Linked DNA regions of Homo sapiens: region 1 is linked to region 2. Evidence: promoter capture Hi-C in human tissues and cell types (Jung and others, 2019). All regions are on one chromosome and are shown on one strand. Each heading gives the region's core, a stretch centred on a gene start or on the middle of the fragment in contact. The rest is flanking DNA. Distances are from core to core; before and after follow the strand shown. Region 1 overlaps CTNNBL1 (catenin beta like 1). Region 2 holds the start of MANBAL (mannosidase beta like).

Region 1 (4,949 bases), core at 1,167-3,666, 500 kb before region 2:
AAAACAATAAAACAACCAAGGAAACCATAAAACAAACAGGAAAAGGGCTAAACGTAATTACTATAAAATCAAATAGTTAAATTCATCTACTGAAAGACAAACTTTCACGCTGGATTAAAAAACACAGTTATGGGCCGGGCGCGGTGGCTCACGCCTGTAATCCCAGCACTTTGGGAGGCCAAGGCGTGCGGATCACGAGGTCAGGAGATCGAGACCATCCCGGCTAAAACGGTGAAACCCCGTCTCTACTAAAAATACAAAAAATTAGCCGGGCGTAGTGGCGGGCGCCTGTAGTCCCAGCTACTTGGGAGGCTGAGGCAGGAGAATGGCGTGAACCCGGGAGGCGGAGCTTGCAGTGAGCCGAGATCCCGCCACTGCACTCCAGCCTGGGCGACAGAGCGAGACTCCGTCTCAAAAAAAAAAAAAAAAAAACACACAGTTATGTGTCTTTAACAAGAGTTACACGTAACACAAAATGACATAAAAAGTAAAGGTGTGTGGTAGCAGGTGCCTATAATCTCAGCTACTTGGAAGGATCATCATATCCCAAGACTTCAACGCTGCAGTGCACTGTGATTGCCTCCTGTGAACAGCCACTGCACTTCAGCCTGGGCAACATAGTGGAATCCTGTCTCTTAAAAAAAAAAAAAATGCTAAGGATATAGGAAGGATCAGAAGAAACAGAAAAAAAAAAATCCACAACCATAGTTAGAGACTAAACAAATTAGGGGATAAAAAGGACAGAAAAGAACGGAATATGTTTACAAAGTTGATTTATGTTATAATTATAGTACTTTATACCCTAGAAACACAAATTCTATTCAAATGTTCACGGAATATTTATAAAAACTACCCAAGTATAAGGCCACAAACAAAATCTCAAATTCAGAAATGTATTTTATAGCCTCTATTTTCTGTTAATGTAATAGGAAAATAAGACTTAATCACTTGGGAATAGAGAATAAAACTAAGCAATATTAAAAGGAGATTTTTTAACCTGAAATGTTTTTATTTTTAAATAAGAGAATTATTTTTTAAAGCATTAAGCGTTTAACTCACAAACTTGGAAAAAGGGCAACAGAATAAACAAAAAAGTAGAAAAAAAGAATTAAAGGCGGGGGAAAGGTATACAAATATACAAAATGCTACAAGCATTGTAGACCATATATATACAAATACACATATGCATATTTATATCACACATATATGCATATATATATATATGTACACACATACATATGCATATTTATATCAAAACCAAGAGTTGGTTCTCTAAAAAAAGATGCCCTCCAAAAAAAACAAATCCAATTGGTGCCAGCTCAGTCGCAATAGAGTAAAGCATCAGGTAGATTTCTAAGGTTCCCAAGTCCAGGCTCTGGCTCTCAGATGGCATCTGTAGAGCTGCCTGGGGCTGGGGGGAACTTGCTGTCCTGAAGGGAAGGACACAAGCCTGGCTGGACTTGCCACCTGTTGACTGTAGAGCCTTTGGGCCATGAATGAACACAGGCAGCAGCCAGGCAGTGGTCAATGTGAGCCTTGGGTGAAACCAAGTGCTGTGCTGGCTTCAGGAATGACCCAGCACAGTCCCAGTGGTGGCCACAGTGGTGCTTGCTTGTCTCACCCCTCCCCCAGCACCAGGCAGCTCAGCACAGAGAGAGAGAGAGACTCCACGTGTTTGGGGAAAAGTCAGGGAAGAGAACAAGAGTTTCTGCCTAGTAATCCAGGGAATTCTCTTCGATTTTACCCAACACCACCAAGGTGGTACCTCTACAAGTCTACAAGAGCCAGAGTGTTACTGAGCTTGGGATGCCCCCTAATGCAGACACAGCTGCTGTGACCAAAGACTTAAATCACAACACCCAAGACTCTCTAAATACCTGGAAAGCCTTCCCAAGAAGGATGAATACAAACAAGCCCAGACTGCAAAGACTACAATAAATACCTAACTCTTCAATGCCCAGACACCGACAAAGATCCATAAGCATCAAGACCGTCCAAGAAAACATGACCTCAACAAATGAACTAAGTAAGAGACCAGTGACAATGCCAGCAAGACAGAGATATGTGAGCTTTCAGATAAAAAATTCAAAATAGCGTTTTGAGGAAGCTTTATGAAATTTGAGATAACACAGAAGGAACGCAAAATCCTATTACATTTTACGGATATTGAAATAGTTAAAATGAATCAAGCAGAAAAATGCAACATACTGAAGAATGCATCAGAGTCTCTTAACAGCAGAACTGATAAAGGAGAAGAAAGAATTAGTAAGCTTGAAGACAGGCTATTTGAAAATACAGTCAAAGACAAAAGAAAAAAAGAATAAGAAAGAACGAAGCACACCTACAAGATCTAGACAATAGCCTCAAAAGGGCAAATCAAATAGTTACTGGCCTTAAAGAGGAGATAGAGATATTGGGGTAGAAAGTCTTTTCCAAGGGATAATCAGAGAGAACTTCCCAAACTTAGAGAAAGATATCAATATGCAAGAACAAAAGGTTACAAAACCCCATCAAGCAGATTTAACCCAAAGAAGACTACCTCAAGGCATTTAATAACCAAACTCCCAAATGTCAAGGATAAACAAAGGATCCTAAAAGCAGCAAGAGAAAAGAAATAATATATACAATGGAGTTCCAATATGTCTGGCAGCAGACTTCTCAGTGGAAACCTTACAGGCCAGGGAAGAGTGGCATGACATATTTAAAGGGGAAGAGTGGCATGACATATTTAAAGTGCTGAAGGAACTATATTTTACCCTAGAATAGTATATCTAGTGAAAATATCCTCCAAACATGAGGGAGAAATAAAGACTTTCCCAGACAAACAAAAGCTGAGGGATTTCATCAACACCAGACCCATCCTACAAGAAATGCTAAAGGTAGTTCTTCAATCTGAAAGAAAAGGATGCCAATGAGCAATAAGAAATCACCTGAAGGTACAAAACCCACTGGTAACCATAAGTACACAGAAAAACACAGAATATTATAACACTGTAATTGTGGCGTATAAACTACACATACCTTGAGCAGAAAGACTAAAAGATGAACCTATTAAAATAATTACAACAACTTTTCAAGACATAGACCGTATAATAAGATATAAACAGAAACAACAAAAAGTTAAAAAGTGGAAGGGTGAAGTTAAAGTGTAGAGTTTTTATTAGTTTTCTCTTTGCTTGTCAGTTTGTTTCTGCAATCAGTGTTAAGCCTGTCATCAGTTTAAAATAATGGGTTATTAAATAGTATTTGCAAGCCTCATGGTAATGTCAAGAGACATGCAACAGATACACAAACAATAAAATGCAAGAAACTAAAACATACCATATGAGAAAATCACCTTCACAAAGAGAAGGAAACACCACAAAACAACCAGAAAACAAATAACAAAATGGCAGGATTAAGTCCTTACTTATCAATAATAATATGGAATATAAATGGACGAAACTCTCCAGTCACAAGATATAGAGTGGCTGAATGGATTAAAAAAATGGGACTCAACAATCCATTGCCTACAAGAAACACACTTCACCTATGAAGACACATATAGGCTGAAAATAAAAGGATGGAAAAAGATATTCTATGCAAATGAAAACCAAAAGAGAGCAAGAGGAACTGGACTTAAATCAGACAAAATAGATAGCAAGACAAAAATTAGACCAAGAGACAAAGAAGGTCATTACATAACGGTAAAGGGACCCATTCAGCAAAAGAATATAACAATTATAAATATATATGCACCCAACACTGGAGCACCCAGATAGATAAAGCAAATATTATTAGAGCTAAAGGGAGAGACAGATCCCAATAAAAGCTGGAGACTTCAACACCCCACTTTCAGCACTGGATCAAACATCCAGACAGAAAATCAACAAACATCAAACTTCATCTGCAGTATAGACTAAATGGACTTAATAGATAGTGACAAACCATATCATCCAAAAGCTGCAGAATACACATTCTTCTCCTTAGCACATGGGTCATTCTCAAGAATAGTTCATGTGTTAGGCCACAAAACAATTCTTTAAAAATACAAGAAAACTGAAATTCTGTCAAGTATCTTCTCTGATCACAATGGAAAAAAACTAGAAATCAATAACAAGAGGAATTCCAGAAACTATTCAAACAGAAATTAAACAATATGCTCTTGAATAACCAGTGGGCCAATGAAGAAATTAAGAAAGAAATTAAAACAGTCTGAAGCAAATGAAAATGGAAACACAACATACCAAAATTTATGGGATACAACAAAAGCAGTATTAAGAGGAAAGTTCATAGCAATAAGCACCTACAACAAAAAAGTAGAAAAACTTCAAATACACAACCTAACAATACATCTTAAAGAATTAGAAAAGTAAGAGCCAACCAAACCCATAATTAGTAGACGAAGAGAAATAATAAAGATCAGAGCAGAAATAAATGAAACAAACAAAAAAAGATAAAAAAGATCAACAAAATTAAAAGTTAGGTTTCAAAAGATAAACAAAATCAATAAACCTTTAGCCAGATTAAGAAAAAAAGAGAGAGGATCAAATAAATAAAAACCGGAAATGAAAAAGGAGGCATTTGGCCAGGTGCAATGGCTCACACATGTAATTCCAGCACTTTGGGAGGCCAAGAAAGGTGGATAGCTTGAGCTCAGGAGTTCAAGATCAGCCTGGGCAACATGGTGAAATCCTGTCTCTGCCAAAAATATTTTTAAAAAATTAGCCAGGCCTGGCGGCATGCAAGGGAACCTTTGGGAGTGATAAAAAGAATCTGTATATACATCATCCTATATGGTAGACACTGTGTAGCTACTGAGCATCTGAAATGTGGCTATTGTAACTGAGAAACTAAATTTTAAATATAATTTAAATAAATTTAAGTTTAAAATTTAAAAATTGATACTGGACTTATTGGAAAACATTTAAGTATCTTTGGACAAACTTAAGTATGAGAATCTATGTTTT
Region 2 (4,926 bases), core at 2,104-4,603:
GTTATATATGGAAATACTTCTAGATCTGTGCATATATACGTATGTCTCTTACTCTGTCCACTGCGAAGGCCTAGAAGCAAGGACACTGAGAAGCACTGAGCATACCTAGAGCCCAGATCTTGTTTTCTGGGCCATTCTCCAATAAAAGGAGCCAGGGCTCCTTGGGAAATGGCTAATTCTAGGACTGGGGCAGAAACATACCAGATGAGTCTGGAATAGAAAGAAAGTGCTCAACAAAACAAAACAAAGCAAAACATATAGAGGGGGATATGTCAAAGGGATACAGGAGCCAAGTGGAAGAGCTCCCAATGGCCAATGGAGGAACAATTTCAGCAACAAAATAAAGTAGTACTGGATTCTGGTCCAAAGTATAAAATAAACATCCATGAGTTCAGGCCCGGCATGGTGGCTCACGCCTGTAATCCCAGGAGAGGGGATTCCTGTAATCAGGAGGCCAAGGCAGGTGGATCACCTGAGGTCAAGAGTTCAAGACCAGCCTGGCCAACATGGTGAAACTCTCTCTACTAAAAATACAAAAATTAGCCAGCCATGGTGGTAGGTGCCTGTAATCCCAGCTACTCAGGAGGCTGAGGCAGGAGAATCACTTAAACCCGGGAGGTGGAGGTTGCAGTGAGCCAAGACTGCACCACTGCACTCCAGCCTGGGCGACAGCGGGAGACCCTGTCTCAAAACAAAACAAATCCATGAGTTCACACCGATACAAATATATGACTCTGTAAGCAAAAAATAGGGGAACAGACAAATTTCCCACAGAGAACTCCAAATAATTTGCATTATATACTCTGCCTTTAAGCATGGGGCATAATTCCACACTCCTTAAATGTGTGCTGTACATAATGACTTTCTCCAAAAGTACAGTGCGGAAAGTGCAGGAGGAAAAGTAACTCTACACTGGAAAAGCCTGACTACTACCTCAAGCCAGGTGGCTCAAGCTAACAGATGTCAACAATGATAACTCATATCGATAGTATGTACCCTTGATATGATGTGATGAGAATAGCACTTTACTTCTGTGGTTGGATTAGTCCATTTTCATACCACTTTGAAGAAATACCCGAGACTGGGTAATTAATAAAGAAAAAGAGGTTTAACGGACTCACGGTTCCACATGGGTGGGTAGGCCTCACAATCACGGCAAAAGGCAAAGGGGAGGCAAGGGCATGTCTTATGTGACAGCAGGCAAGAGAGTGTGTGCAGGGGAACTGCCCTTTATAAAACCATCAGATCTCCTGAGACTTATTCACTATCAGGAGAATAGCATGGGAAAGACCCACCCCCATGATTCAATTGTCTCCCACCAGGACCCTCCCACAACATGGGGGGATTATGGGAGCTACAATTCAAGATGAGATTTGGGTGGGGACACAGCCGAACCCTATCAGTGGTCCTCCTCCCCAAAAACCCATTACCCTGATCTTACTCATGTCAAAAACAGGCAAATCCTAATTAAAGGTCCTTCTGCAAAATATCTGACCAGTCAGTACTATCTTCAAAACCCTCAAGTTCATCTAAAACAAGGGAAGTCTGAGAAACGATCACAGAGATGATGAGCCTAAAGAGATATGATGACTAAATGTAATAGGGTGCCCTGGATAATACCAGGACAGAAAAAGGACATTAGGGAAAAACTAAGGAAATGTGAATAAAGTACAGATTAGAGTTAATAATAATGTATCAATATTGGTTCAGTAATTGTGACATTTCAGATATTAGTAATAGGGGAAACGTGGGCTATATGGGCACTCACTGAAGTATCTTTGCGATAACTTTGTAAATCTAAAATTATTCTAAAACAAAAAGGTTATTGGGGAAAAAAAGAATGGGTCAACATTTCAAAACAAATAAATAAAAAACCACTGAGACAAGTATAGCTCTCAAGACTTAGCAAATACTAAATCTTCTCTTAAGACTGAAAAACTCAGATTTCACGACTGCCACAGGCCTTCATCTCCCAATGTTGTGTACTGTGCTGGTAGGCCATTCTTGGCTTCTAATGAAGTAACTTTAAATTCTATTGTGAAAATTCAGCTGAAAACAGACTGGGGAATAGAAACCAGTGTCAGAAGTTACTGTTTTAGGCCAGGCACAGTGGCTCTTGCCAGTAATCCCAAACACTTTGGGAGGTCCAGGAGGAAGGATATCTTGCCTCCAGGAGTTCAAGACCAGGCAGGAAAACATAGTGAGACTCCATCTCTATTTCAACTTTTTTTTAATTAAAAAGAAAAAAAAGCCGGGTGTGGTGGCTCCCGCCTATAATCCCAACACTCTGGGAGGCCGAGGCGGGTGGATCACCTGAGGTCGGGAGTTTGAGACCAGCCTGGCCAACATGGTGAAACCCTGTCTTTACTAAAGATACAAAAATTAGCCGGGCGTGGTGGCACACGTCTGTAATCCCAGCTATTCGGAAAGCTGAGGCAGGAGAATCGCTTGAACCCAAGAAGCGGAGGTTGCAGTGAGCCAAGATCCCGCCACTGCCCTTCAGCGTGGACGAGAGAGAGACTCCGTCTCTAAATAAATAAATAGAATGGCTTTAAAAAAAAAAAAAGGAAAGAAAAAGAAGTTACCGCTTTATGGCAATGGGTTGTACAGCCTGGCCCGTCCCATTAAAACAAATTCCTAAGAACCACGCAAAACTAGATTAGAATGCAAAGCTAAGCCACCTCTCTGGGCAAAGTCACACTGGTAGCCGGTGGGCTGAAACTGGTGTGCAGATGCCCTGCAAAATATAATTATTAATCTAAATGTGTTGTCACCATTTTAAAAATGTTTCTCATATTCATTTCTCGCTTCTCTTAGAATTCGTACAACAAACATGGACTGTGCACCTACTAAGGGCTTTACATTCACCACCTCGGTTTACCCCGCAGTACAAGCGTGTATGTCCATTTTAGAAGACGAAACTGAGGGCCAGAGAGGAACCGTGACTTGCCCACGGTAAGAGAGCCATACGGATTCGAACCCTGGCCAGATTCACTCTGGAGCTCAGGGTTCTCCTACTGCTCCACCCGTGGGAGGAAAGGCCCGGACCAGGCCATGAGGAGCCCTGGGTTCTGGCCCAGCCTCCGCACGAAAGCGCAGGGCTGCCCCAGGCGAGGCCCTCCGCCTCCCGGGGGGCTCAAATTCCCCTCCGGAAGTAACTTTCGAACAACCGCCGAGGGAACGTATTCAGGCCCTGAGCGGAGCGACAGCCGGGCCCACCAAGCGGCGCCGCTGGAGACAGGCCGGCCGGGAAAGCCAGGCCACCGCACCGAGGACGGCTCTCTCTCGGTTCCCACCCCACCGCAAAGCTGCGGCACTCACCTCCCGCGCCGCCGCGCCGCTCCCCCGGAAGTAGTTCCCTGCGACCCTGAGTCCCGGAAGTGACGCGCACTGAGCAACCAACCGGCTCTGTTCCGCCCGCGTTGCCAGGTTTCTGGGTGAGGCACCGCTGGGTTTTGTCGACTTTTGTCCCTGTTCTGTGGGTTCGAGCTGGACAAAGAGGTTTGGGGAAATGAAATCTAGAGCTTGTCAATTCTTTAAGCTCCTATATCACTCAGCTCGTTTCAGCAACATTTTTGTTTAATTAAAAAGAAAACAAAAGAAATTACTTCTCGGGGCTGGGCACGGTGGCTCACGCCTGTAATCCCAGCACTTTGGGAGGCCGAGGCGGACGGATCACTTGAGGTCAGGAGTTCGAGACCAGCCTGGTCAACATGGTGAAACCCCGTCTCTACCAAAAATACAAAAATTAGCCGGGCGTGGTGGCGGGCGCCTGTAATCCCAGCTGCTTGGGAGGCTGAGGCAAGAGAATCTCTTGAATCCCGGGAGGCAGAAGTTGCAGTGAGCCGAGATCGCGCCACTGCACTCCAGCCTGGGCGACAGAATGAGACTCTTCCTCAAAAAAAAAAAAAAAAAAAAAAAAAAGTTACTTATTCATCGCAATGGGCTGTATAGCTTGGCCCGTCTCATTGTAACAAATTCGTAAGAACTGCGCGAAACTAGATTAGAATTTTGTCCTATGCAAAGCTAAGCCATCTCCCAGAGCAGAGCACAGTCACAACTGGTAGCTGGTGAGCTAAAACGGGTGTGTAGCTGTCCTGCAAAATGTTCATCTGGATGTGTTGTCACTATTTCAAAAGTGTTTCTCACGTTCATTTCCTTAATTTTATGCCAGGTCCTGAGCTAGGAGCCTACAATGCAGAGAGGAGACAAACAGAAACACCTCTTGTAATTCAGACAGAAGCAAATCATTATAATTCATTCAAAAAGCATTCACTGAGCGCGTACTCTATGCTTTGTCCTTGTAACTGAGGACACAGTGCTAAAGCAGACACATACAGTCTCTGCCCTTGTGGTGCTTACAGTCCGTTGGAGGGAGACAGACTAATTAAATGAATGTGTAATCATATAACAGGATAAGTTTTTTGAAGGCAAAGAACAGTGTTCCATGATTAAGAAGGGGTGGGGGGCAAGTAGTAGGAGAAAAAGAAACCTAGATGAGAGTGTGATAACCAGCCTCCACCATAAACCCTGACGATTCTTGGCTCCTGATATCCATACCCCTCTGTAGTCACCTCCCACCAAGAATAAGACTGACCTGTATAACCCATAGGATATTGCGGAAATCTTGGAGCACGAGTTCCAAGATAAAGTCATAAAAGACATTGCAACTTCCTCTTTCCTCTGTCTTGATTGCTCATGGGGAATCCATGTTGTGAAGACACTCAAGCAGTCCTATGGAGAGGCTCGCATGGGGAGTAACTGAGCTGCCTGCCAACAACCAGCTCCAACTTGCCAGCCATGTGTATGAGCCAAGTGGCTCCAGCAGTCCTAGTCAAGCTTTCAAATGACTGTGGCCTGGCCAAAATCTTCAGTGTAAACTCAAGAGCAACCTTGAGCCAGAAATACCTTGCAATGCCACTTGAA

Evidence for each region. Contacts are between HindIII fragments. The study calls those that stand out against the background at their distance.
Region 1: a contact is called between a fragment that was not itself captured here and the fragment with the promoter of MANBAL in region 2, in 1 of the 25 tissues and cell types used here (mesenchymal stem cells).

What each region holds. Positions count from the first base shown.
Region 1 is chr20:37,782,827-37,787,775 of GRCh38, reverse strand. All of the region lies in intron 10 of CTNNBL1 (catenin beta like 1), which reads right to left. Among named protein-coding and RNA genes, the nearest start is that of CTNNBL1, 91 kb to the right of the region's middle. RefSeq lists enhancers at 1,032-1,531, 1,532-2,033. The HindIII fragment of the contact is 3,918 bases long and covers 458-4,375 here.
Region 2 is chr20:37,288,082-37,293,007 of GRCh38, reverse strand. It overlaps MANBAL (mannosidase beta like), which reads right to left and starts at 3,353. Exons shown (of 3, transcript NM_001003897.2): 1 at 3,322-3,353. RefSeq lists enhancers at 1,141-1,250, 2,479-3,383, 3,456-3,565. The HindIII fragment of the contact is 10,035 bases long and covers 1-4,926 here.